3 separate regions of the Homo sapiens genome follow, and all the other regions are linked to region 3. Evidence: promoter capture Hi-C in 16 types of primary human blood cells and fetal thymus (Javierre and others, 2016). All regions are on one chromosome and are shown on one strand. The core of a region is centred on a gene start or on the middle of the fragment in contact, and the rest is flanking DNA. Distances in the headings are between cores, read along the strand shown. Region 1 has its middle 17 kb from the start of ZNF710. Region 2 overlaps IDH2 (isocitrate dehydrogenase (NADP(+)) 2). Region 3 holds the start of PLIN1 (perilipin 1).

Evidence for each region. The method cuts DNA at HindIII sites, captures the fragments that hold promoters and counts their contacts. A CHiCAGO score of 5 or more calls a contact.
Region 1: a contact is called between a fragment that was not itself captured here and the fragment with the promoter of PLIN1 in region 3, in 1 of 17 cell types (endothelial precursors). The highest score is 5.1, in endothelial precursors.
Region 2: a fragment that was not itself captured here is called in contact with the fragment with the promoter of PLIN1 in region 3 in 1 of 17 cell types (M2 macrophages); the score reaches 5.1 in M2 macrophages.

The regions. Positions count from the first base shown.
Region 1 is chr15:89,982,885-89,985,926 of GRCh38, forward strand. No RefSeq gene overlaps it. Among named protein-coding and RNA genes, the nearest start is that of ZNF710, 17 kb to the right of the region's middle. RefSeq lists an enhancer at 1-74. The HindIII fragment of the contact is 1,566 bases long and covers 708-2,273 here.
Region 2 is chr15:90,096,448-90,099,553 of GRCh38, forward strand. All of the region lies in intron 1 of IDH2 (isocitrate dehydrogenase (NADP(+)) 2), which reads right to left. Among named protein-coding and RNA genes, the nearest start is that of IDH2-DT, 4.1 kb to the right of the region's middle. The HindIII fragment of the contact is 4,798 bases long and covers 1-3,106 here.
Region 3 is chr15:89,677,809-89,680,694 of GRCh38, forward strand. It overlaps PLIN1 (perilipin 1), which reads right to left and starts at 1,559. Exons shown (of 9, transcript NM_002666.5): 1 at 1,443-1,559. The HindIII fragment of the contact is 7,659 bases long and covers 1-2,886 here.

The DNA of each region.
Region 1 (3,042 bases), core at 241-2,740, 310 kb after region 3:
TCTCTTTCATTTAAGAATCAGGGCTTTGGTCTCTGTCTCTACACAGAAGATTCAGGAAAAGAGCTCTGCTGAGGACTTCTGCCTTCTCCAACTCTGCTTCAGGGCAAAAGGATCCAGTTATCGGCTGTCAGGTGCTGGTGGTTTCACCTCTCTTGGCAGAAAATAATGTAGCATTGCTTTTAAAATTGCAGCCCTCCTATTGATTGTAATTCAGACTTGTCTTTGAATTTCTGACTAATTCCCGTTCCAAACTGAAAGATGCATGAAGGTAAGTTGTCTTTGTGGGTTTATTTATTTATTTGAGACGGAGTCTCGCTCTGTCGCCCAGCTGGAGTGTAGTGGTGTGATCTCCACTCACTGCAACCTCCGCCTCCCTGATTCTGGTGATCCTCCTACCTCAGCCTCCCGAGTAGCTGGGATTACAGGCGCCTGCCATCAAACCCGGCTAATTTTTGTATTTTTGATAGAGATGGGGTTTCACCATGTTGGCCAGGCTGGTCTGGAACTCCTGACCTCAGGTGATCTGCCCACTTCCGCCTCCCACAGTGCTGGGATTACAGGTGTGAGACACCACACCTGGCTTTGGCATCCATTTTTAATCTTCTTCTAATACACCCAAACTCCCTGAAAATGTTTAAATTCTCTCTGTGCATTGAGATGCAAGTTTGCTACTCTGTTTTCTCAAAAACTTGACAAGGGCTTCAATAAGCTTTAACTTACTCCATTTAACAAGGCACAATTTAATCCAACTGTCCTTTTAAACTAGTGAGTTTTACCAGTTTTATGGCTAAAACTTTAAGTAAAAGCATTAACATCATTATTTTTGTGTCTGTGTAGGTTTTTTTTGTTTGTTTGTTTTGGATTTTTTGTTTGTTGGTTTTTTGAGACAAAGTCTCACTGTGTCACCCAGGCTGGAGTACCTTGACTTTCTGGGCTCAGGCAGTCCTCCCACCCTAGCCTCCCAAGTAGCTGGGACAATAGATGAGCACCACCCACACCCAGCTGATATTTTTAAAAATTATTTTTGTAGAGATGGGATCTCCTTATGTTGGCCAGGCTAGCCTCAAATTTTGGGCTCAAGTGATCCTCCAGCCCCAGCCTCCCAAAGTGCTGCGATTACAAGCATGAGCCACCCACCTGGCCTGTCTGTATTTTTTATGTATACAGCATACATGTCTTTGTTTGTATACTGTCTACATGGTTCCAAGTTGACTTGTAATAAATGAATGTTCATAAATTAAATACGTAAATCCAAATGCCTTTCTTCTCTCCCTTTCTTTCTTTCTTTCTTTCTTTCTCTTTCTTCCTTCCTTTCTTTCTTTCTTTCTTTCTTTCTTTCTTTCTCACTCTCCTTCCTTCCTTCCTTCTTTCCTTCATTCTTTCTTTCTTTTGTTCTTTCTTTTTTTGAGACAGGGTCTCACTCTGTCACGCAGGCTGGTATGCAGTGATGTGATCATAGCTTGCTGCATCTTTGAACTTCTGGGCTCAAGTGATCCCCTGCTTCAGCCTCCTGAGTAGCTAGGACTACAGGTACATGCCACCATGCCTGGCTACCAAATGCTTTTTAAGTTCATGTGACTTTAGTCATCTTTTATAAATAAAACTAGTTTTAAAATCGTTGGTAATATGAAATTAGGATTTTTCAGAATTGTCGGTATTAAATATAGTTAAGACATTTTTGCCTGGGTCTATGGGTTGGACGGGTTTTACTGTCTTTGCTAGATATTTTAAGGTCATACAGCTGTTGCTTCTGTAATTTTTTTATACTTTCTTGATTTATTTGTGAGCTAAAGCTGTGTGAGTGGCTGCTAGGCTTCCCTGAAGCATTGCATACATCTTACTGTGAGCTTCCGTCTTTGGTTTTGCACCTTTAGAGTCTGGATTCTACACAGGTGGCCATAGTAAGCCCTGAAGACATATGTATGTCTATAGCACCTAAGCCACCAGTGACAGGGCAGAGACAAACCCAATATGTCCTCCCTGGCCCAGCTGTGTTTCCTACCCATGTGGGAAAGGGTCAGATCCTCCAGGCATTGTCTTCACAGCTCCATCCTAAGCTCTACACCTGGCATATAAATTCAGGATCGAGATGGGCTCGCCCTTCATTGCCATCCTTGGTGCCACATGGGTACTTGGGACCCAAGATGACTGAGGAAGACACTGGGGAGGGTACTTGTATATTATAAGTCATCTTATCTTAAATTAATGAATATGTAATCATAAAATGTCTAAGTCATTTCTAAGTAAGTTAAAATACTGAAATATTAAACATAAGCTTATGTACTTGGGCATCTTATTTCTTTCTTTTCTTCTCTTTTTTTTTAGATAGAGTCTTGCTCTGTCACCCAGGCTGGAGTGCAGTGGCACAATCCCAACTCACTGCAACCTCACTTCCCTGGCTGAAGCGATCCTCCCACCTCAGCCTTGCAAGTAGCTGAGACCACAAGCATGCACCACCACGCCCAGCTAATTTTTTGTTTTTTGTAGAGATAAGATTTCACTATGTTGCCCAGGCTGGTCTTGAACTCCTGAGTTCAAGTGATCCATCTGCCTCAGCCTCCCAAAGTGCTAGGATTACAGGCCTGAGCCGCCATGCCTGGGCAGCATCTCATTTTCATATGGTATAGAAAAGCTAAAATACATTTAGATCGGTTAATAAACAAAAAAAATGAAGTAACATCTTCCTAAAAAGTTATGAAATGGTTTTCATCTATAAATAATGATATAAAATAGTTCAAAATAACTTATAGGTTTTTCACTAGAAACTAAGGTTACTAAGAGATAAAATTGTAGTTAATATGTGGAATTAAAACTACTAGTTCTAAGAGAAGCAATTATTTATACAGAACATATCAGAAAAATAGGATGTGTTTTTGGCAAAGAAGATTGTAAAGAAGGCATGACAGTGTGGTTTTTGTTCAAGGAAAAGTAATTTTGTCTGGGATTTTTTTTCTTTTTTTTTTAGGGACAGGATCTTGCTTTGTCACCCAGGCTGGAGTACAGTGGCACCATCAATAGCTCACTACAGCCTCAAACTCCTGG
Region 2 (3,106 bases), core at 57-2,556, 420 kb after region 3:
CCCACTATCCCCTCACAACCACTAAGAGAGCTACTATCAGGAAAAGAAAAACAAAACAGAAAATAAAGTGCTAGCAAGGATGTGGAGAAATTGGAACTCTTGTGCCCTGTTGGTGGGAATGTGAAATGGTGCAGCTGCTGTGGAAAACAGTATGGGTGTTCCTTAGCTAAAAGGAAAAGAATTACTGCCGGGCACGGTGGCTCGCACCTGTAATCCCAGCACTGTGGAAGGCTGAGGCGGGTGGATCACGAGGTCAGAAGATCGAGACCATCCTGGCTAACACAGTGAAACCCTGACTCTACTAAAAATACAAAAAATTAGCCAGGCGTGGTGGCAGGCGCCTGTAGTCCCAGCTACTGGGGAGGCTGAGGCAGGAGAATGGCATGAACCCGGGAGGCGGAGCTTGCAGTGAGCTGAGATCGCGCCACTGCACTCCAGCATGGGCGAAAGAGAGCAAGACTCCGTCTCGAAAAAAAAAAAGAAAAGAAAAGGACAAGAATTACTATATGATCCAGCAATTCTGCTTCTGTATATACATCCAAAAATATCGAAAGCGGGGTCTGAAAGAGATATATGTATGCCCACATTCATAGCAGCAATGTTCACAACAGCAAAAGATAGAAGCAACCCACGTGTCCATCACAGATGAATGGATAAAGACAATGTGATACAGTCCCCCCTTATCAAAGGTTTTATTTCCATGACGTCAGTTACCTGTGGTGTCAGTTACCCACAGTCAACCATAGTCTGAAAATAGGTGAGTACAGTACAGTAAGATATTTTAAGAGATCACATTCATGTAACTTTCATTACAGTATATTGTTATAATTGTTCTATTTTATTACTAGTTATTATTGCTAATCTCTTACTGTTCCTAATTCATAAATTAAACTTTATCATAGATCTGTATGTATAGGAAAAAAACATAGTATCTACAGGCTTTGCAGTTTCAGGTATCCACTGGGGATCTTGAAATGCATCCTCCAAGGATAAGGGGGACTACTGTTATCTACATACAATGGAATATGATTCAGCCTTGAAAAGAAGGGAAATTCTGACACCTGCTACAAAGTGGATGAACCTGGGGGGCATTATGCTAACTAAGTGAAATAAACCAGTCACAAAAGACAAATACTATATGCTTCTACTTACATGAGGTACCTAGAATAGTCAAATTCATAGAAACAGAAAGTAAAAAGGTGGCTGCCAGGGACTGGGGACGGGAAGTGGGGAGGTATTGTTTCATGGGTAGAGAGTTTCGGTTTTGCAAGGTGACAAAGTTCTGGTGATGGATGGTGGTAATGTCTGCACAACAGTGCGAATGTACTTAACAATACTGTACACTGAACAATGACTAAGATGGTAAGTTTTATACGTTTTTTACCAAAATAATAAAAATTTAAACCAGTCAAAAAAAATCAGGAGATTTTATATAAAAATCTAGAAATGCAGCAGGCACTCACTCATGGCAAGGATGGGCTGGGCTGAAGGCGGCCTCTCCCTTCACTCCATGACAGCCAAGTGCCCTCCAGTGTGGCCCAGGGCACTGGAGTTTGAGACCCCTGTCTGCTGTTCAGCCTGTATGGTGGAGATACAGCCATGGTCTGCCCTTCTCTGAGAGATAAGTGGTGACAAGCTACCTGAAATACACAGAGCAGCAGCTAGGCCTCCCTGAAAACCTCCGAAGTGACAGCCACCACGAATCTTCAGCTGATGCATTGCACAAACACTGTCCTCTTGGCGAGAGTGCAGGATGGAATTACACCAGTCACCAGAGGCACGTTAGGCTGACTCTCCTCCCTGTCTGGGGCTCCTAGCACCCAATACCAAGTAAGGATTTCAAAACACATCCCTGGCTTCTTGCTGCTCCCAGCAGGAGGCTAGAGGTCCAGCCGCAGGCAGCCAGCCCCAGGCATAACTGCTCCCTCCACATTCCTACCCATGCTCTCAGCAGAAAGGCTGCTCAGTCAGCATGTCCCAGCAAAAGATCAGAGAGTGGGGAAAGGTTCCAATTCCTGGGGGCTCAAGAAGGCAGGACAGCAACTTTGTATATTTTATGTATGTATGTATGTATGTATGCATGCATGTATGTATGTATGTATGTATGTATGTATTGAGACAGAGTCTCACTCTGTCGCCTACACTGGAGGGCAGTGGCGTGATCTCGGCTCACTGCAAGCTCCACCTCCTGGGTTCAGGCAATTCTCCTGCCTCAGCCCCTGAGTAGCTGGGACTACAGGCGCCTGCCACCACACCCAGCTAATTTTTGTATTTTTAGTAGAGACCGGGTTTCACCATGGTGGCCAGGCAGGTCTCGAACTCCTGGCCCCAACTGATCCGCCTGCTTCGGCCTCCCAAAGTCCTGGGAGCCACCGCACGCGGCCAGAACAGCCATTTTGGAACAAACTCTAGTAGACTCCTTGGTGTCATCCTTCATTCCTTCCCTTCTCTCACATCCAAACCACCAAAACCAGAAGCCACCCTCAGACAAGCCCACCCTTGCCATAAGTGAGTGCCTGCTGCGTATCTAGATTTTTATGTAAAATCGCCTGAATTGGAACCTTTCCCCACTACTGGCTCCTCCTTCAAAATATATCCAGAATCCAACCACTTCTTCACCATCCCCAGCGCCACCACCCAGGTCCAAGCCATCATCCTCTCTTGCCAGGTCCCTGAAGCTAGAATGCTCCCGATAAGATGGAAATCAGGTAACGATACTCCTCTCAAAACCCTGCAAAGTAAAAGCGAAAGCTCTCAAAAATGGCCTGTGAGCCCTCTACAGACCCCACTGCCGAACCTCATCCTGTCACTCCACCTGGTGCCTGCTGAGCCAGCCTTCGCACCATCCTCTCTGCTCTTCCATCATGCCCTTGGCACCTGCGAGTCCCTCTTCCCCCAATACCGAAAATGGCCTGCTTCCTCCCCTCCTCAGCGATTCCTTCAGTGAGGACTTTTCTGGCTGCCCTATACAAACTTTTGTGCACACACCTTTCTTGCCTGTTTCTCCTTAGCTCTTCTCTTTTTGGGGGGAGAAGGGGGAGGCAGGGTCTTGCTTTGTCACCCAGGCTAGAGTGCAGTGGCACAATTGTACCTCACTGCAGCCTTG
Region 3 (2,886 bases), core at 309-2,808:
TGCACAATCTCGGCTCACTACAACCTCCGCCTCCCGGGTTCAAGGGATTCTCCTGCCTCAGCCTCCCAAGTAGCTGGGATTACAGGCGCCCACCACCACGCCCGGCTAGTTTTTTTTTTTTTTTCTGTTTAGTAGAGATGGGGTTTCACCATGTTGGCTAGGCTGGTGTCGAACTCCTGACCTCAAGTGATCCACCTGCCTAGACCTCCCAAAGTGCTGGGATTACAGGCATGAACCACCACACTGGCTAATTTTTGTATTTTTAGTAGAGATGGGGTTTCATCATGTTGGCCAGGCTGGTCTCGAACTCCTGGCCTCAAGTGATCTGCCCACCTTGGCCTCCCAAAGTGCTGTGATTACAGGCAAGAGCCACCATGCCCGGCCAAGAATAATGTTTCCTATAAGAGTTCAGGTTAAGAGGCCAGGCGCGGTGGCTCAGGCCTGTAATCCCGGCACTTTGGGAGTCCAAGGCAGGCAGATCACCTGAGTTCAGGAGTTCAAGACCAGCCTGGGCAACATGGTGAAACTCCGTCTCTGCTAAAAATACAAAAATTAGCCAGACGTGGTGGTGGGCAGCTGTAATCCCAGCTACTTGGGAGGCTGAGGCAGGAGGATCGCTTGAGCCTGAGAGGTGGAGGTTGCAGTGAGCTGAGATCCTGCCACTGCACTCCAGCCTGGGTGACAGAGGGAGACTCTGTCTCAAAAAAAAAAAGGAGTTCAGGTTAGGAAATAAAAAATGCAGGTAGCCATAAGAGATAAAAAGTTTTAGATAAAATCTTAAGGCTCTTAAATGAGGGTCCAAAAGAGACTAAAACAAGAAGTTTCAAGCTGGGTGCACTGGCAAGCACCTGTAATCCCAGCTACTGAGGCTGACATGGGAGAATTGCTTGAGCCCAGGAGTTTGAGATCAGCCTCGGCAATACAGTGAGATGCCCATCTCTAAAAAAATAAATAAACAAGTTAAAGGTTTCATCTTTGAAAAGGCTCTGGGTTAATTCCTCTATTTCTCTCTTTCTCTCTGTCTGTCCCTCTCCCCCTCTCCCTATCTGTTTTTTGAGACAGGGTCTCAATCTGTTGCCCAGGATGGAATGTGGTGGCACGATCATGGCTCAATGCAGCCTTGACCTCCTGGGATCAAGGTACCCTCCCACCTCAGCCTCTCATGTAGCTGGGACTACAGGCATGCACCACAATGCAGGGCTAATTTTTTCTCTTTTTTTATAGAGACAGGATCCCACTGTGTTGCCCAGGTTGTTCTTGAACTCCTGGGCTCAAGTGATCCACCTGCCTTGGCCACCTGCAGTGCTGGGATTAAAGGCATGATCCACTGTGCCTATCCAATTCCTCTATTTCTAGATTCTGGTATCTATACCAGAATCTCTCCCTCAGTAGTTTCCCTGCAGAGTTTTTCATCCCCAGCAAAATCCCCAAGAGGCCCTTACCTTCAACTTCTTCCCTTTAATGTTCATAAACAAGCCATGTAAGGCAGGTGCCCCAGGACCCCAACACTCACTCCGGCTGACCGCCACCTCAGTCTCACAGAGCCCAGGCTGCAGAGTGTCTCCTCAGGCAGAAACAATTCCTGTCACTCCTGGGAGGCTTGGGCAATGCTGCTTCCACCTCCCAGCTAGAGGAGGGCAGAGAGGGAGAGACAACAGGGTCAGCCAGTTGTCATGGTTATATGACCCAGGGTTCCCCAGGCATATCCTAACTTCTCTAAGGACATTTAGCAAACAAGGAGGTAGGTGGCAGAGCTGAAGGAGATCCAGGCTCAGAGGACTTAGTATTCCAGAGCCATGAAGCATCAGTTCTGTAATGTTCCTGCCCTCAATTCACAAAAATCTGCTTTCCAGAAAGAAGGTATAGGGATAGACATCATTAAACTCAAAAGCTCTAAAGTTCTATATACCTCTGCAATCTTTTGGCTCCTTTTCCATAGAGGGTCTTGTGGGAGTTTTCAATCCATTTCTCTCATCTTTTCTTATTTACTAGCAAGACTGAATGCTGAACAGTAAAATTTAAACCCACACAGAAGAGTTCATCTGAATGTATTCATCTTTGATTATGGAGATAAATTGCCCTCAGTGAAGAAGCGACAGAGCCGGGAGTTGAGTTTTTGACAATATAGCCTTTGAGTTGAGGGAGGAATTCCCACTTCTTAGAATTCAAAAAAATTTATTGAACTTTACCTGGCCTAAGATGCTACCAGAATGAAGAGTAGGAGAGCCAAGTAGATTTTTATTCTCCTGGGTCTGGATAAGCGACAGTGTTGACTAGGATTCTATCACTAATCAAGAGCACCCAGACAGCCAAGAATTAGCACCACTCAACCCTTCTTTACCCAGGACTCAAGCACAAGCCCAAGTTCTAGTTCCTGGCTTTAGATATGATGGAGGACTATGGTATAAGCCATAGCTTTCAGATTAACTAAGAAGGGCCTCTTCATGAAAACAGACAATAGGAAAACAAAACTTATTTTCTTTGTTGCTGGTGGAATTATATGTATTGTTGACTCTGTTAAGTCACACAGTGTGGGCAAGAGAAGAAAGAGGCAGGGGTGGGGAATTATGAAAGATCCTTGGTAATAAATTACGTATCTGTGATGCAATAAAGTAGGGAATGAGAAGGCAGGAAAGGGAGGAGTCAAGCAGGGAGGCTTCAAAGGAGTAATACGCTATACGTTTAATACTTATTGATCCAACCTGTGCTTTTCAAATGTAAGGCAGTAGAGAAGACAAAGTATTTAAAGAAGTGGCCTCTGCCCTCACCTCAAGGTTCAGCACAAATTATCTGTGAGGCTGTGACTGGACAGCAACCTGAGCCAAAGGGCAGTTTTCAGCCTTCAGAGTAGTGGCTTTGGGCCAGAGGGAACATAGGGCTTTGTGC